Linked DNA regions of Homo sapiens: region 1 is linked to region 2. Evidence: promoter capture Hi-C in human tissues and cell types (Jung and others, 2019). All regions are on one chromosome and are shown on one strand. The core of a region is centred on a gene start or on the middle of the fragment in contact, and the rest is flanking DNA. Distances in the headings are between cores, read along the strand shown. Region 1 overlaps GLP2R (glucagon like peptide 2 receptor). Region 2 holds the start of RCVRN (recoverin).

Region 1 (5,607 bases), core at 365-2,864, 35 kb after region 2:
AAACAAGACTGTCCTTTTCCCACAACCACCCATTCTTAGAAACTTTTTTTTTTTTTTTTTTGAGACAGGGTCACCCAGGCTGGAGTGCAGTGGCACAATCATGGCTCACTGCAGCCTCGACCTTCTGGGCTCAAGCAAGCCCCTCACCTTAGCCTGGGACTACAGGCATGCACCACGCCTGGCTAACTTTTGTATTTTTGGTAGAAACGGGGTTTCACCATGTTGTCCAGGCTGTTCTCAAACTCATGGCCTCAAGTAATCCTCTTGTCCCAGCCTCCCAAAGTCCTGGGATTACAGGTCTGAGACATCACTCCTGCCCTCTTAGGGGCATTTTAACAGTTTTCTGCTGGGGGATGTGAATGCCCTTGACTACTCACCATTTGCTTCATCGTCATAGAAGGTCCTCACCATTGACAAAAGCCTCACTTGATCCTATAGCACCTTCCCAGAACTGCTCTTTCTGATACCCTGGCCTTAGGAGATAAATGTCCTTCCCAAGACAGCGGGCAGAACAGCCAGAGTACTTACAATAACCTTGGACTGCTGGGGACCAACCTTAAGCCACTCACCTGTATTTATAATCTCTGAAGCACATTTGATGAGCTTTGAGCTTAGAAATGAGAAGCTTGAGAATTTTCAGGAAGATGAAGAAATTGACCTTGAAAAAAAGAGCAGAATTGGGTAAGTAAGTGACGAATTCCACATAGCTGTGAACTTCAAGGTCAGGCTGGGCTCGGCCATCAGTTCCATCAGTTCAATGTAAACCAGGGGCAATTCAGCAGTTAGCTGGCCAGGTAGTAAATGCTTAGCTGTGATCTCCACTGTCCTAAAGGCCATCTGAATCTCCACTGTCCCAAAGGCCATCTGAATCTCCAAAGTCCCAAAGGTCATCTGAACTGAAAGTCTGGAAGGAATTTCAGAAAGTGATTTAGTTTATTATTCTGCCTTAAGGAGGCCCATCATTAAGGCCATCTAGAAAGGCAGGTGGACGTTCACATTATTATTATTACTATTATTGTTATTATTATTAACTACCACGTATTGAGTACTTATCACTTAGTACTTAGCACCATGTCAGGCTTTGGGCTAAGAATGGTCCAGGCATTCTTGTATCTAGTTTTTACAACATCCCCTTAAGGTAGCCACAACTATTTTTATCCTCATAAAACAATGAGAAAACAGGCACAGAGAAGTAAGTGTAATTCCCAGGTTGCATGGCTAGTCAGTGATTAAGCCTGTAATTAAACCCAGATTCATGGGATTATAACCCTCCCTTCACTTAAACAGAACGCTATTCTGCCTCTCTTCTGTAAAGAACTCCATCCCTATTGGTGTCTAACTTGAGATCCTGTTGCTGCTATGGAATTCATAGACAGAATATGCTCTCTACTCCCTAGAATACATTCCACGACTGTCATGGACTGGGAAAATCCAGCCCTCCATTGTCAGCCTTTAAAGAAATTTAAAAATATGCCTGCAAATTCCTTGGCCCTTCTGCCTTCAAAAGTGGAGGCTAATCCCCCTTATTCCCCTTGTGAGGTGAGCTAGATTTAGTTACTTGCACTTAACGAAAAGAATATGGTGTCATAGAAGTGGTGCTATGTGACTTCTGGGCTAGGTCCTCAAAAGGATGGCTGGCTTCCACCCAGCTCTCTCTTTCTCTCTCTCTCTCTCTTAGGTTTCTCACTCCAGGGGAAGTCAGCCACCATTTTGTGAAGACACTCAAGCAGCCTGTTGGGAGATCCACGTGGGGTAACTGAGTTCTCAGGCCCAAAACCAGCACCACCCACCACCAGCTACGTGTGTGCGCCACCTTGGGAGCTGATCCTCCAGCCCCAGCCAAGCCTTCAGATGGCTGCGGCCCTGGCTGCCGTCTTGGCTGCAGCCTCGGGAGAGATCAAGAGCCCCCTGGAAGTGGTGAAAAGCAGGTGGCTGGGTTTGGGTAGAGCTTGGAGAATGAGAACAGGGTTTGTGAGAAGTGAGACTGGGCAGGAGAGGGGGGTCCGTTTCTGCAGGGTCTTTCACAGCCGTGGTAGGTAAGGAGTTTGGGTTTTCTTCTGAAAGCAATGAAGAGCCAGTGATAGATTTTAAGCACGCAAGTGACCTGATCAGATTTGTACTTCTGCATTTCAGAAAGATAATTTCAGCAGCAGTGTGGAGAATGGATTGGGTGAGGGTAAGGCTGGAGGAGGGGAGATCAGTTGGGAAGTAGTTTCAGAGTTCCTGGGGGACGGTGATGGAGAAAAGAAATCAGCAGCAGTTCTGGTGCTTCCATGATGGAGAGGAAGGGATCAATTTGAAATGATGAAGAAGTATGAGTCAAATGATCTTTGTTATTGACTGGATGTGAGGGCCTGAAGCCAGCAGGAATGATGGAGGTTCCTAGCCAAAGAATATTTAGGAACAGAAAGTTTAAATACAAGGTAAATGTAATCAAGTAATGTATTTCTTTTAATGGGATATCTGCCTCTCATCATAAAGAGAAAACGTTGTGTCCTTGGCTTAGTGATTTATTGAACATAGGCATTTTTCTTACAAAGCAAGCTTAACAGCAGAAAGGCATTTATTTCAGCAAATTAATTTCAATCAGGACTGTCTCCTAGGCAATGAAAGGTTATAATGGGAAGCATGTTGATTCACTGTTCTCTGTGTCTTCCAGAGACCAGACATGAGAAAATGGGCATCAACCCATAGAACGTACGAAGGAGGCACTTCCTCACTGCCACAGGATGAAACCCTAGCTGGGGGTACCATGAAGCCTCTGCTCATCTGGGCTTCCAAGAAGACAAGAGTCAGCAGGTACTTTTGGATGGTGCTGTTCTTCATTTTCACACAAGCAGGAAAGGGGCTGAGTGAGGACATTTTCCAAGAACCCAGCCAACTCCTCCAGGATTTTGTGACCAGATGGGGGTGGGTGCTAAGGACCCCAAATATATAAGGATCTATCCCAGATGCATTCTCAGATGTGACATTCTTGGTGACACTTTCTTGTTACCCCAGCTTCTGTGCACAGATCTGGGCCTACAAGTTGGCAGAGGTGATTGCCGGTATAGCGGGAGCTCAGGGGTAGGCCTCATCTACCCCTAAACTCTTCCATCTACCGCCAAACCCCTCCTCCTCTGGCCTGCTGTGTGGACTAAAATGCTAATCCTGTAGAGCTACTCTTGTGAGTCAAAACACTCTTTCCCCAAGAGCCCTGCTGAAAGGCACACAACCCACTGAAGCTAAGGAATCACTGGGAGAGGAGGAAGGAAGCCCTTTCTCCTTTCATTCATTCATTCATTTTTGCAACAATGAAGACTTCAGTAAGTTACCTAGGCTCTGGCTTATTATCACCATTTAAAGCAGAAGATGGGGTGTAGCAAAGCTAAGTTTTGATGGGGTGGGAAAACCCAGAGTACAGGGAGAGTCACACTTTAAGTCTTTAGAAGAGGAGAGCACAGGAGTGAGGAAATGTCTTGGGAAGCCTGAAGCCACAGAAAGCCCCTGGGTTCCTGGTGGGGCAGAGGACCTAAAGAGGGACAAGGCCAGTGAAGACAAATTTTACCAGTGCATCAACTTTGCCAAGTTCTGAGGCTATCACGGAAGATTCAACAATAGCAAATGCAGGCTTTTGACTTTATGATTTCATAAAGTCAACAGATGGTTCATTCAATTTGTTAGCTCAAAACAGCCATTTCACCGGGTCTGTTAACTGCAGGGTGCAGGGTATGGATAGAATGACCTTGCATGATGTAATTATTGTCTAAGGCTGTCCTTGAGCAGGACTAATCAAGACTTTACCAATATTCTACTGAGGGCTGGGGAGACTAGGCTGTAAGAATATGCCAGTTTCCGAGATGATTCAACTCTAAATGTACATTTCAGATGACAGGTGAAGTAGTGAAGTCTTATACAAAGAAAGAGGTGGGAATTCTACAATTTCTGCCTGGCAAGAGACCCAAAGGGCATCTGGATTCTTCAGGTTGCCACATTATGGTCATTTCTGAAACACAGGCAACCTTGTACCAACAAAGCAGTAAATGAAGTTTGCTGACGCATCTGGATTTCCAGCATGTTGTACACTCGCATCAACCCAGATGCTGGTCAGCAAATGCAGACCCAGTCTAGGGGATGGTGGGAGAGATCCAACTGTGATAACTAGGGATATTCACCAGGGAGCCGGAACCTGGGATGGGACACTCTCCTTGGTCCCAGTGCTTGGTTCACCATGCACAGTTGGCTTTTCCTCAGAAGCCTCTGATCCATGTTCCCCAAAATTGGGCCCAGGCTCAAATTTGACCAAGTTGAAAGAAAATTGTTAAGTACCTAGAAATGCCAAGTGCTACTAGCTCAGTCTTGATTATTGTTACTCTTTCTTACTTCAGTTTAAGTAGAACATATGTGGGGGCCAAAGAATTATTATTTTTTTCTTAACACAATAAAGATTTATTTTATCTTATTTTATTTTATTGGTTATGTCACAGTCTAGTGCAGTGGAGGGAGTTCTGCTCCATACAGTCATTCAGGAATCCAGGTTCCTTCCACGTTGTGGTTTAAGGAATTCTCTTTTAGAGTTGGGGTTATGTCTATTCAGATCAGTGGAAAATTGCAACATGTGGTCATATGACCAAAAATGAAGGCAGATATTGGTTCAGTCATAGTCTGATGAGTCTCAGAATGATAACTATTAAATTCTGAATTCCCTGAGGATAGAAACTCTGAAATAACCTAGCACCAAGCCAAGCCCAGTGAAGGTGCTCAATGAATGCTAAAGGAAGATACAAGAGAGTGGCTGAATGAGATTCCAGTGCTAAGGAAGCTCTACATGGCAGGAGATTTGATTCCATCAGTCTGGGTAAGTCTGGGCTGGGTATTTTTTTAATCCTCCCCAGGTTGTTTTAATGTGCAGCTACTGTCTAGTCCAGGGTTTTTCAATGTTGGCACTCTTAATATTTGGGGCAGGATAATTATTTATTCTGGGGGTGGTTCTGTGTGTTGTAGGGTGTTGAGCAGCATCCCTGACCTCCACCCACTAGATGCCAGTAGCAACATTCTCCTCCTATCCCCATCCCCAATTTATGACAATTAAAAATGTCTCCAGACACAGCCAAATGTCCCCAGGGGTCAGAATCTCCTCTGGTTGAAAACCACTGGTCTAGTTCAAGACTGATTTCATAGATGAAGAAACAGAGGCCCAGAGAGGCCAACTCACCTGGCTGAAGGACACATCACAAGTCAGTCATAGAGCCCAGGCTCCTGACTCCTAGCCTGCCTCTTTCACTTCTTTCTGCATGGCCTTTCTTTTCCCTTCCATGTCTGGTGGGACACATAAATTCCACTCTCTGGGGAGCCCTAGAACCAATGCACAGAGTCCTAGAATCCTAGAGCTGTGCAGATTGGGAGGGCAGCAGGTTTAGCTCCTTATTGTTCAGGACAGATTATCTTCTTGTAAACTGATAGACATGAAGATCTAATGCCTTTCTCTGGGGTATATGTCAGTGTTTTACAAGTTCATGGTTAAATGTCTTCCTTGTGACCAAAGGGAATGCTCCCATTTCTCTTCAAGCCCGTTTCCTCTAGTCCAAGTGCCTGTAGACACAGACAACAATAGTTAAGCAATGTCCT
Region 2 (5,662 bases), core at 1,549-4,048:
GCCCCCTACTAGTGGCTCAGAGCAAGGGGCCGAGGCCTCTGACCTCACTCTCCCTCCATCCCCAGGGCTGCAAGGAAGCTCTGGAATGAATGCGATTCCAGGGTGTGGCTTGGGCTCCCGTTTGTTTTCAAGGCTAGTGACTGTCCTGTTTCTAACTGCTCTTGAGAATAAATGCACGCTACAGGATGGTGAAAGCCTAGGAGAGGAAGGACTCCTATTCAGAAGTAATATTCTCACTGGGCGCAGTGGCTCATGCCTGTAATCCCAGCACTTGGGGAGGCCAAAGCAGGCAGATCATGAGGTCAGGGGATCGAGACCGGCCTGACCAACAAGGTGAAATCCCATCTCTGCTAAAAACACAAAAATTAGCTGGGCATGGTGGTGAGCGCCTGTAATCCCAGCTACTTGGGAGGCTGAGGCAGGAAAATCGCTTGAACCTGGGAGGCAGAGGTTGCAGTGAGCCGAGATCGTGCCATTGCACTCCAGCCTGGGCGCAGAATGAGGCTCTGTCTTAAAAAAAAAAAAACAAAAAAAACAAACAAACAAAAAAAAAAAAACTCACAAAGTGATGGAAAAAAATTAGAAAGTTCACACACACACCCCAATATGCAGGTTTCCTGAGAAATCTCTGAAACTGTACTGGGCAGAGCGGCTGGGAGGGATGAGTCTGCCCCTTGGTGCCTGAACCTCTCGGTCCTTCCAGAGTGACATGAGGTGGGCCTGGCAGGTGGCTTTCTCCCAGCAGCAGGGACCTACCTTCTGCTGCCACTAGCCTGTTAGTAAGTAGGCTAAAATCCCCACTTTACACTTTGAGATGCAAGGCGGGCGGATCACCTGAGGTCAGGAGTTTACGAGACCAGCCTGACCAATATGGTGAAACCTCGACTCTACTAAAAATACCAAAAAAAAATTAGCTGGGCGTGGTGGCAGACACCTGTAGTCCCAGCTTCTCAGGGGACTGAGACAGGAGAATTGCTTGAAACCAGGAGGCGGAGGTTGCAGTGAGCCAAGATCGTGCCCAGCCTAAGTGACAGAGGGAGACTCCGTCTAAAAAAAAACCAGTTTACCTGCCTGGAGACCGTGGGGTTTATTCTTCATCATTCTCACCCCAGGGCAAAAAGAGACAACTCTCCATCCACGGTGGCAAGGCTGGGGTTCTGAGTGTGTCCCCTCGAGCACTGCGCTCCGCTAAGGAAAGTGCACGCCCACCCTCCCTTCCTTCTGGGTGACAAGAATCCAGGTGTGCAGCGTCCTCACTAGGTTGCTTCCTCGTGCTTGATACTCCCCGCTGAGCTGCACAGACGCGAAGCCTGCCTTTGCACAGCTCCGTCTCTGACCACTCAGTTATTTATCCATTCACTCAGCAAACACGTTTTCTTGCCTGCTCACTCCAAGTCCACTGCAGACGGACACCCTGCAGCCTGCCATGGACCCACAGATAGATTGTGTTTGGCCCACACCATGTTTTGTTTTGTTTTTGTTTTTGTTTTTGTTTTGTTTTTTTGAGATGGAGTCTCACACTTGTCACCCAGGCTGGAGTGCAATGGTGCAATCTCGGCTCACTGCAACCTCTGCCTCCCGGGTTCAAGCGATTCTCCAGCCTCAGCCTCCCAAGTAGCTGGGATTACAGTCACCTGCCACCATGCCCGGCTAATTTTTTGTATTTTTAGTAGAGACAGGGTTTCACCATGTTGGCCAGGCTGGTCTCGAACTCCTAACCTTGTAATCTCCCCACTCAGTCTCCCAAAGTGCTGGGATTACAGACGTGAGCCACCATTAAAATTTTGAATTAATTGCCAAAGTTGAAAAGTGTGGAAATTGCAAGAAAAATTCTGATTTTTGGATTTCTCTTGAATAATTTAAAAAAACCCAAAAATCTCACCATCCCATGTGACCACGTTCTCTGGCAGCCCCTTCCCGAGGTGACACAGGCCTGGCTGCCCCCTGCTGGTCCCTTCAGGCAGTTCACCTTCACTCCCTGTGACTGATGGACAATAACAAAACGAGTGTTTAGCATTAGCCATGTGCCAGTTTCTAAGTGTGTCAGACATATTGACTCACATCAGCCTCACAATGACAGTGTGGTAGATGCTATGATGCCCATTTATTCAAGAAAGACTTGCTGGGGGCCCAAGCCTATCAGGTTCTGGCAATGGAAATGCATCCGGGAACAACACAGACAAAATCCCATCCTTCACGGAGCTTTCATTCCGGTGAGGGGACATGCAGCGTGCCGATGATGGTGGGGGTTGTGCTATTATAGATAGAGGGTCAGTATAGGCCTGGCTGAGCAGGTGACATTTAAGCAGAGACATGACTGCAGTGAAGGTTTAGAAGAGTGTCCCAGGTGGAAAGAGGTGAAGAAACAAGCCTGGGGCCACACAGCTAGTTAAGTAGCCAAGCTGGGACTTGAACCCATGCTGGCCCCAGAGTCTGTGCTCCTAACCATTGCATTCTAGGGCTTGATATGAGATGCCAGCCCCGCCCCGAGATGCTCAGAGTTAGTGAGGAAGAGAAACAGGGAACATGGCTGCTGTTAGAGGGCTGGGGCTGGGGGTGCCGGAGGCCCCAGCTCTGAGGGTTCCAACCTCCTGTCCTGTTCTAGTATCGTCCCGGGAGGCCGAGATGAATTGCCTGCCTGCCCTGGGCTCTTTATTTTAATCTCACTAGGGTTCTGGGAGCACCCCCCCCCACCGCTCCCGCCCTCCACAAAGCTCCTGGGCCCCTCCTCCCTTCAAGGATTGCGAAGAACTGGTCGCAAATCCTCCTAAGCCACCAGCATCTCGGTCTTCAGCTCACACCAGCCTTGAGCCCAGCCTGCGGCCAGGGGACCACGCACGTCCCACCCACCCAGCGACTCCCCAGCCGCTGCCCACTCTTCCTCACTCATGGGGAACAGCAAAAGTGGGGCCCTGTCCAAGGAGATCCTGGAGGAGCTGCAGCTGAACACCAAGTTCTCGGAGGAGGAGCTGTGCTCCTGGTACCAGTCCTTCCTGAAGGACTGTCCCACCGGCCGCATCACCCAGCAGCAGTTCCAGAGCATCTACGCCAAGTTCTTCCCCGACACCGACCCCAAGGCCTACGCCCAGCATGTGTTCCGCAGCTTCGATTCCAACCTCGACGGCACCCTGGACTTCAAGGAGTACGTCATCGCCCTGCACATGACCACCGCGGGCAAGACCAACCAGAAGCTGGAGTGGGCCTTCTCCCTCTACGACGTGGACGGTAACGGGACCATCAGCAAGAATGAAGTGCTGGAGATCGTCATGGTCAGTCTCCCCTCTCCCCTTCTGGCTGGGCGGTGCCGGGGTCGCTCCGGGCTGGGGGTCCCCTGCTGCAGCTGCTGCAGAGGGAGTGGATCTGTGGGTGGAGCGGGGGATGCGGGCCACTGGCTCTGAGAGCGTGGTGCTCCGAGATGCTGATATTGATAGAGGGGTGGGCACTTGCCCACAGCTTCGTTGTCTTCCCGGAGCAGAATCTGAGTGTTTCCTAATACAGCCATGTTATGCTTGGCTTCACGATGTTTGGGTCAACAACGGACGATATAGACCACTGTGGTCCCATAAGATTGTAATGGAGCTGAAAAATTCCTACTGCCTAGTGACGTCATAGCACAGTTACTTTATTTTTCAAATGCATTTAGTGTAGCCTAAGTGTATCCGTAAAGTCTGTAGTTGTGTACGGTAATGTCCTAGTTCTTCACATTCACTCACTACTCACTCACTGACTCACCCAGAGCAACTCCCAGTCCTGCAAGCTCCACTCATGGTGAGTGCCCTAGACAGGTCTACCATTTTGTATCTTGGTTTTTTATTTTTTATTTTTTTGAGATGGAGTCTCACTCTGTAGCCCAGAGCTGGAGTGCAATAGTGCGATCTTGGCTCACTGCAACCTCTGCCTCCCGAGTTCAAGCAATTCTCCTGTCTCAGCCTCCCGAGTAGCTGGGATTACAGGTGTGCACCACTATGCCTAGCTAATTTTTGTATTTTTAGTAGAGACGGGGTTTCACCATGTTGGTCAGGCTGGTCTCAAACTCCCGACCTCCAGCGATCCGCCAGCCTCAGCCTCCCAAAGTGCTGGGATTTACAGGCATGAGCCACTGTGCCCGGCCCATTTTTTATCTTTATACTGTATTTTTACTGCATGATTTCTATGTTTAGCTATGTTTAGATGCACAAATACTTACCATCGTGTGACAACTGCCTGCAACATTCAGGACAGTCACGTGCTGCACAGGTTTGTAGCCTAGGAGCAAAAGGCTGGACCATGGAGCTCAGGGATGTAGTCGGCTCTACCATCTGTGTTCGTGCAAGGATGCTCTATGATGTTCCCACATAGAAGTTGCCTTAAGATGTGTTTCTCGGAATGTATTCCTGTCTCTGAGCGACACGTGACTATATTTACATTTTTTCTTTCTCTCCATCCTTTGTTTCTTCCTTCCTTTATTAAAATGTCCTTTGAAATTTTCAGCAGTACACATTCAAGTTGAATCACTGTTCATTCTAAACACACAATATGCTTCTAATATAAAGTAGAAAGAGGTCAAAGTTGGGGGCATGAACTCTGAGTTCTAGTCCTCATGTTCTCCCCAGCGCGGGGCGGATCATGGCACCACGCATGAGCCCCCGCTTCCCACGCGCGGCGTGGCTCCCCGGCTCCTGACAGTTTCCCTGTGAGGCGCACAGGCTTCCATATGGTTCCCAACACGCCTTCTCCCCTGTCCATACTGTCCTCCTGTCAGATCCTTTGTTGTGAAAGTAATGGCAAAAACCATAATTACTTTTCCACTAACCTCGTAGGTGTCTTGAAAATGGTTTATCTGATATAAAAGTAACTCATGAAATTTAGAAACCTAGGCAAAAGAGACTAACAATTGCCTCTAATTCCAACATCCAGGGAAAACTTTTCTTAGTATATCAGTATATACCTTTTCAGTCTTTTACCTATATAATTTTAAATAATGTTAAAGCTATGACATATTCACATACGATTTTTTATCATACATTTTTCAGTTACTCTTTTATCATGAGTGCTTTCCATATCATTACATATTCTTCCAAAACACTTTTTTTTTTTCTTCAGACAGAGTTTTGCTCTTGTCGCCCAGGCTGGAGTGCAGTGGCGTGATCTCAGCTCACTGCAACCTCCCCCTCCTGGGTTTGAGCAATTCTCCTGCCTCAGCCTCACGAGTAGCTGGGATTACAGGCACCTGCCCAGCTAATTTTTGTATTTTAGTAGAGACGGGGTTTCACCATGTTGGCCAGGCTGGTCTCGAACTCCTGACCTCAGGTGATCTGCCCGCCTCGGCCTCCCAAAGTGCTGGGATTACAGGCGTGAGCTTCCGCACCCAACCTCTTCCAAAACTCTTTTAATAGCTGCTTGGAATTCTGGCTTATGGAAATGTGGAAATTATTGAACATTCCTATGTTTTTGGACATTAGGTTGTTTCCATTTCTTTCCTATTATACCAGTTCTAATTTCCTTCATTTGATTTTTTTTTAATTTATTCTTTTTCAGTCCCCCTGCCCCTGCCACTTACCTTATTCTTCTAATTCCATTCCTGTTAGTAGAGACTATTGTTTAGATGTTAATAACTTTGTGTGCATTGGCAATCATGCTTTCATTTGCATGATGACAAATGCACAAAAATCTTCCACAGTTA

The links. Contacts are between HindIII fragments. The study calls those that stand out against the background at their distance.
Region 1: a fragment that was not itself captured here is called in contact with the fragment with the promoter of RCVRN in region 2 in 4 of the 25 tissues and cell types used here (aorta, dorsolateral prefrontal cortex, pancreas and 1 more).

The regions. Positions count from the first base shown.
Region 1 is chr17:9,865,798-9,871,404 of GRCh38, reverse strand. It overlaps GLP2R (glucagon like peptide 2 receptor), which reads right to left. Exons shown (of 13, transcript NM_004246.3): 10 at 570-658. Among named protein-coding and RNA genes, the nearest start is that of RCVRN, 37 kb to the left of the region's middle. The HindIII fragment of the contact is 5,557 bases long and covers 1-4,392 here.
Region 2 is chr17:9,902,407-9,908,068 of GRCh38, reverse strand. RCVRN (recoverin) reads left to right here and starts at 2,798. Exons shown (of 3, transcript NM_002903.3): 1 at 2,798-3,269. The coding sequence starts at 2,889. The HindIII fragment of the contact is 14,018 bases long and covers 1-5,662 here.